Regions from separate parts of the Homo sapiens genome. Here region 2 is linked to region 1. The links are contacts of gene promoters, found by promoter capture Hi-C in blood cells and fetal thymus (Javierre and others, 2016). All regions are on one chromosome and are shown on one strand. Each heading gives the region's core, a stretch centred on a gene start or on the middle of the fragment in contact. The rest is flanking DNA. Distances are from core to core; before and after follow the strand shown. Region 1 holds the start of CTRC (chymotrypsin C). Region 2 holds the start of TMEM51-AS2 (TMEM51 antisense RNA 2).

The links. The method cuts DNA at HindIII sites, captures the fragments that hold promoters and counts their contacts. A CHiCAGO score of 5 or more calls a contact.
Region 2: the fragment with the promoter of TMEM51-AS2 here is called in contact with the fragment with the promoter of CTRC in region 1 in 7 of 17 cell types (activated CD4 T cells, total CD4 T cells, erythroblasts and 4 more); the score reaches 6.8 in activated CD4 T cells.

The regions. Positions count from the first base shown.
Region 1 is chr1:15,436,848-15,440,226 of GRCh38, reverse strand. It overlaps CTRC (chymotrypsin C), which reads right to left and starts at 1,784. Exons shown (of 8, transcript NM_007272.3): 1 at 1,723-1,784. The coding sequence starts at 1,762. The HindIII fragment of the contact is 3,491 bases long and covers 1-2,912 here.
Region 2 is chr1:15,170,097-15,173,475 of GRCh38, reverse strand. It overlaps TMEM51-AS2 (TMEM51 antisense RNA 2), which reads left to right and starts at 1,852. Exons shown (of 3, transcript NR_167931.1): 1 at 1,852-1,865; 2 at 2,161-2,295. All of the region lies in intron 1 of TMEM51 (transmembrane protein 51), which reads right to left. RefSeq lists an enhancer at 1,163-1,332. The HindIII fragment of the contact is 7,186 bases long and covers 1-3,379 here.

The DNA of each region.
Region 1 (3,379 bases), core at 535-3,034:
CAGGTGGAAGAAGCACAGAGTTGGGGCTGGGCAGACACGGGGTTGATATTTTACTGTGTCACGGGGGTAAGCCACCCAGGTCTCTAGGCCTTGTTTTCCCTTTCTGTGAAATGTGAAGAATCACACTAATGCGGTGAGTTTGCCCTGAGAACTGAATTAGACAACACATAAAAAAGAAAGCGTTTGGCCGGGCACGGTGGCTCACACCTGTAATCCCAGCACTTTGGGTGGCCAAGGCGGGTGGATCGCTTGAGATCAGGGGTTTGACACCAGCCTGGCCAACATGGCGAAACCCTGTCTCTACTAAAAATACAGAAATTAGCCAGGCGTGGTGGTGCATGCCTGTAATCCCAGCCACTCAGGAGGCTGAGGCAGGAGAATCGCTTGAGCCTGGGAGATGGAGGTTGCAGTGAGCCGAGATCGTGCCATTGCACTCCATCCTGGGTGATAAGAGCAAAACTCCATCTCAAAAAACAAAACAAAACAAAACAAAACTGGCTGGCATGTGTGCGAGTGCCCGGTACACCTGTGTTCTTCTGTCTGTTTTTAGGCCCCTGCATCATGGTGTGTGTGTGAGAGAGCAGTAAATCCACTGTTATAGCTGGGAAGCTGTGTGGAGCGGTCAAGAACACGTGCTGTTCCGCGAGACAGACGTGGACTCAAATTCTGCCTCTTCCACTAACCTGCCATGTGATGTCAGGCAAGATACTAAGTCGCACGGAACCTCGATGTCCTCATCTGTAAAATGGGGCTATGAAAAGACCCTACCTCTTTTTCTTTCTTTTTCTTTTTTTTTTTTTTTTGAGACGGAGTTTCACTCTTGTTGCCCAGGCTGGAGTTTGATGGCGCGATCTCGGCTCACTGCAACCTCCTCCTGGGTTCAAGCAATTCTCCTGCCTCAGCCTTCTGAGTAGTTGGGATTACAGGTGCCCGCCACCACGCCTGGCTAATTTTTGTATTTTTAGTAGAAACGGGGTTTCATCTTGTTGGCCAGACTGGTCTCAAACTCCTGATCTCAAGTGATCCACCCACCTCGGCCTCCCAAAGTGCTGGGATTACAGGCGTGAGCCACCATGCCTGGCAATAGACCCTACCTCTTAAGGTTGTTTTGAGGATTAAATTGGCTCCTACATGTAAGGGGCCTAGCATAGCGTCTGGCACATAGTAAACACACAGGAAACAGGAGCTGCTATTATTACTGTTGTTGTTGTTAGCTGGAAGGACTCTTCATTAAGTGCTCTCCTTTGCCAAAAAAGTTAGTGAGATTTAGAGAGGTGAAATGACTTTTCCAGGTCCTGCAGAGAAGAAGTGGCATTTAAGCTAAGTCCCTGGGCTCCTAATCTGGGAAAACGCCACCAAAATGATGGAATGGAGAATCCTCAAGGGAGAGAGAATGCTGGGAAAGGCAGACCCCGATGGTCCCTGGGGTGAACCCAGGATGAGGCATCTCGTGTCCCTCCCCCTTGCGTGGTGCTTTCCACACCTCATTTCTAACTGGGGACACGTCAGATCATCTTCCCTGTTTTGCAGATGTGGAAACAGAGTTGGCAGGCAGGCTGTGGCTTGTCTGACACACAGCTGGTTGGTAGCATCTGAACCCACAGGGGACCCCAAAGTGTCTTACCTGGAGAGCAGAGGCCCCCCCACTCCCCATCCCGTCCTTGCCCTGGAGGCCAGCCCGAGCTCACAGCCTGCTAGCTGCAGCCCCACCCCACCGCTTACCACAGGCCAAGAGCGCAGCGAGGACAGTGATGCCCAACATGGTTAGGTGCTCAGGACTGGCTGACCATCGGGATGGGCTGGGGCACACTTATAGGCAGGAGCAGGTGAGTGCACCTGGTCAAGGCCAAACCGCCCCTTGGAGAGAAACCTGCTCTGATAAGGCCCTTTCCCTGACCTTGGGTGGTTACTGTTTAATTTGGGCAGGAGACAGGGCTTTCTTAGAAGTATGGATTTTCCAAATATCCTGAAACAGAAAATTCTGAGTTGCAGTGCTTTTTGGCATCCCCCACCCCACTCTGTTTGACGTGTGTGTTCATTCTCTCTCCCTACCTTATACTATTTATTTATTTATTTGGAGATGGAGTCTTGCTCTGTTGCCCAGGCTGAAATGCAGTGGCACAGTCTCAGCTCACTGCAACCTCCACCTCCCGGGCTCAAACGATTCTCGTGCCTTAGCCCCCTGTGTAGCTGGGACTACAGGCGCCTGCCACCACGCCAGGTTAATCTTTTGTATTTTATTTATTTTTTTGAGACAGGATCTTGCTCTGTCACCCAGGCTGGAGTCTCAGCTCACTACAACCTCCGCCTCCCGAGTTCAAGCGATTCTCCTGTCTCAGCCTCCCAAGTAGCTGGGACTACAGATGTGTGCCACCATTTTTTTTTTTTTTTTTTTTTTGTATTTTAGTAGAGACAGGGTTTCACCCTGTTGCCTAGGGTGGTCTTGAACTCCTGAGCTTAGGCAATCTGCCTACCTCAGCCTCCCAAAGTGCTAGGATTACAGGTGTGATTACAGGCCGTTACCTTATTCTTTTTAGTTATTTATTGGGCACCTACTGTGTGTCAGGCATTGCGCTCAATTCTTCTTGCATTATCTCACTTAATTCTTCCAACAACATGAAATAGACGCGGTTATCTGCTCTGAGGTGAGATGAGAAAGGACCAGGCGCAGTGGTGCATGCCTGTAGTCCCAGCTACTCCTGAGGCCAAGGTAGGAGGATCGCTTGAGCCCAGGAGTTCGAGGCTGCAGTGAGCCGTGATCGTGCCACACTGCATTCCAGCGCGGGTGACAGAACAAGACCTTGTCTCTAAAAAAATAAAATAAAAGTGAGGAAGCTGAGACTCAGCGGGTAAGTGACCATCTAGGGTCACACGGCTGGGCAGCAGCAGAGCCAGACTTTGAAGCCAAAGCTTCTAACACCAGCCTGGGGCTTCAAGCTGTGGAGACATGCTGCTCCTTCTCTGCCTTTCTAGTGCTATTGGATCGCTTCCTGGCTCTCTCTCTGTCTCATCTTTCTAATTGCCTGGGCTTGATGCACTCCTGCACCTGCCTCCAGGGCTGTGGTTGGAGGCAGGGATGCAGCAGGCTCTGGAAGGTGCTTAGTTGGCCAGATTCCTTCCTGGAGTCAGCTTAGTTGTAGGTCCTCAGTTTCCCCATCTCTAAAATGGGCAAAAGGACCAGATGGACTTTCAGGCTCCTTTCAGTTCTACAATTCTGTAACTTGAATGTCAAGGTCAGTGGCAGATCTGAGGGCCCAAAGCACTGAGTAGCAGAAATTCTACCAGAGCCTCCGGCATTCGGGGTTGGCCATCCCTTGGAACATGTGGTTTGATCCATTCGCCCCAAGGCCTGGCCTCAGCCTGGTTGGTTAGATTCTGT
Region 2 (3,379 bases), core at 603-3,102, 270 kb after region 1:
GCTGAGGTGGGTGGATCACTTGAGGTCAGGAGTTCGAGACCAGCCTGGCCAACATGGTGAAACCCCGTCTCTACTAAAAATACAAAAAATTAGCTGGGCGTGGTAGTGTGCGCTTGTAATCCCAGCTACTCGGAAGGCTGAGGCGGGAGAATCGCTTGAACCTGGGAGGCAGAGGTTGTAGTGAGCCGAGATTGCGCCACTGCACTCTAGCCTAGGCAAAAGAGCGAAACTCCGTTTCAAAAAAAAAAAAAAAAAAAAAAAGAATATGATCAGGTTAAACCCCAGATTCCTAAGCAGAAAGAGGAGATGCTGGGCCCATCTGACCTACTCCCTAGGCATGTCCAGGCACAACTATTAACTGGATTAAGCACAATAATATTTCACCTGCCAGAAGTTTATTACACATGGCCTCATTCGGTTCCCACAACCCTCCATGAAAAAGGTAGGCATTGAGCCCATTTAACAGCTGAGTACATATCCTCGGGGGATACGTTCCAAGACCCCCAGTGGATGCCTGAAACAACAGACAGCACCCGACCTTACACATAACGACGACGTTTTCTGATCTGATAACCCAGACCGCTCCTAAGTGACCAATGAGCAGGTAGTGTCGACAGCACCCATCTGCTGGACAAAGAGACGATTCACGTCTGGAGCAGGACAGAGTGGGACAGTGTGAGATTTCATCACACTACTCAGAATGGGATGCAATTTAAAACTTATGAATCATATCTTTCCGGAATTTTCCATTTAATATTTTCAGATTGTAGTTGGCTATGGGTAACTGAAACAGTGGAGAGTGAAATGATAGAAAAGGAGGAACTCTTGTAGACAATATAGGATCATAAAGGGTTAAGTCACTTGCTCAGGATCACAAAGCTGGCACGTGGTGGAACCAGAATTCTAACCCGTGGCTGTCTAGCCCCAGAGTTCACTTACTTTCTCTTTTCCTTTTTCTTCTGTCTCTGTCTCTCTCTCTCTCCTTCTTCTCTTTCTTTTTTCTTCTTTCTCTCTCTCCTTCCTTCCTTTCCATTCTTTTCTTTCCTCCCTCCCTCCTCCTTCCTTCCTTTTTTTTTTTTTTTTTTTTTGAGACAGGGTCTCACTCACTCTGTTGCCCAGGCTGGGGTGCAGTGGCACAATCTTGGCTCACTGCAGCCTTGACCTCCCAGGGTCAGGTGACCCTACCACCTCAGCCTTCCAAGTAGCTGGGACTACAGGCACGTGTCACCATGCTCCACTAATTTTGGTATTTTTTCTTTTTTGCAGAAATGGAGTTTTGCCATGTTGCCCAGGCTGGTCTTGCACTCCTGGGCTCAAGCGATCCACCTGCCTCAGCCTCCCAAAGTGCTGGGATTACAGGTGTGAGCCACTGTGCCTGGACAGAGTCCACTTTCTTTTCCATACTTCAGAAGTTTCAAACGTGGCTGGGTATGTTAATCAGCTAGAGAGCTTGTTTGAAAATCTGATTCCTGAGTCCCACTGCTGAAGTCTGACTCGGCAGGCCTGGGCTGGGGCCTGGAAATCTGCTTTTATTAAGTTCTCAGCTGATGATCTGAGCAAGGGGTTGTTGGGATGGACCACATCTGTTTCTGCTAGAAGGTCCTGTCAAGAGAGTCAGGGAACGCCCAGCAGAGCCCCAGAAACCACCTGTGGGTTCAAGGAGGAGGTTCCGCGGCAAGGACTGATTGATCAGCTGTGGTAGTTCCTGCTGTGCGGGCTTGGTTAAGCTGGAACTACTTTTCCCAGAATCCCCTTCTCTGACTGGTTCTGGGTTATAATTGGTCAAAAGAGGAATCTGTGGAAAGCTGGGAGATGGAAGTGAAGCAGCGACCATTACACTTTAGAGGTCATCATGATTGGATGAGGTGAGAGACAGCCCCGTGGGTTCCAGCACATTCGAGCCTGTCCTCCATTCTGCATCCAGCTCTTTCTCCTGACTGCTGGTCCTGTTAACCAACAGCAGCCCAGGCCCCCCCGCGGACACTTGGCTGGGGATGGACCAGACAACGGCTGGCTGTAGACTTCTCCACCAGTTTGCCCGTGTACCCAGGGCCAGGTGGCGATGCCCCTGGTCCCCGGCAACTCTTCCACCTTCCTTTCTGCCGCCCCCCCTATGAATGCATAAGAACTAATTCCTATAACAAACCCCTTATCTCATAGGTCATAGAAGTTTGGCTTCTCTCATTGACCTGGAAGGATGCCGTCATCCACTCTGACCTGCAAACCTTTTGATCTCAAACAGCGATCTTCCAGGCGTGGCCCCAAATCAACAGCATCAGCGTCACCCAGGAGCTGGTTAGAAATGCAAATCCTGGGGCCCCACTCAGACCTACTGAATCAGCAACTGGGGGTGGGGGATGTGGCGGGGGGTGGAGGAGGAGGGAGGACCCAGCAATCTATGTTTTAACAAGCCCCCCACCCCAGAGGATTCTAACACAAGCTGAAGATGGAGAACCACTCATGCAAGCATTTAGAAAACCTGCCTCTAGGGAGGCCGAGGCGGGCGGATCATGAGGTCAGGAGATCGAGACCATCCTGATTAACACGGTTAAACCCCGTCTCTACTAAAAATACAAAAAATTAGCCAGGCGTGGTGGAGGGCGCCTGTAGTCCCAGCTGCTTGGGAGGCTGAGGCAGGAGAATGGCATGAACCCGGGAGGCGGAGCTTGCAGTGAGCTGAGATCGCAACACTGCACTCCAGCCTGGGCGACAGAGGGAGACTCCGTCTCAAAAAAAGAAAACCTGCCTCCATTTCTGTTTGGGATGATGTAGTAGTTCTGGAAAAAAGACAGTGGCGATGGTCACACAGCACTGTAAATGTGCTTAATGTCCCAGAATTGTACACTTAAAAATGGTTAAAATAGGCCAGGTGTGGTGGTGACTCACGCCTATAATCCCAGCACTTTGGGAGCCTGAGGTGGGCAGATCACTTGAGCCTGGGAGTTTGATACCAGTCTGGGCAACATGGCAAAACCCCGTTTCTACCAAAAAATACAAAAATTAGCCGGGCGTGGTGGTGCGCACCTGTAATCCCAGCTACTCAGGAGGCTGAGGCAGGAGAATCGCTTGAAACTGGAAGGCGGAGGTTGCAGTGACTCCATCTCAAAAAAAAAAAAAGATAAAAAAAAACCCAGCAGTATCCCAGGCACCTAGCTTTACCTTGCCCTGCAGCAGAGGGCCGGGGGAGAGGAGGGAAAGGAGGAAGTTGGCTTGCTCATGGGTCTGTACTCCCAGGCATTCTGAGATAAAGCCCCACGACTCTCAGGTGTGTTTGGCTTGGATTTGGAATGGACTTACTAGAATGGAAAGATTTTCAAAAATAATTATGACAGTAACACCTAAAAATGTATTGAGCATGTACTGTTTTAAGTACATTTAT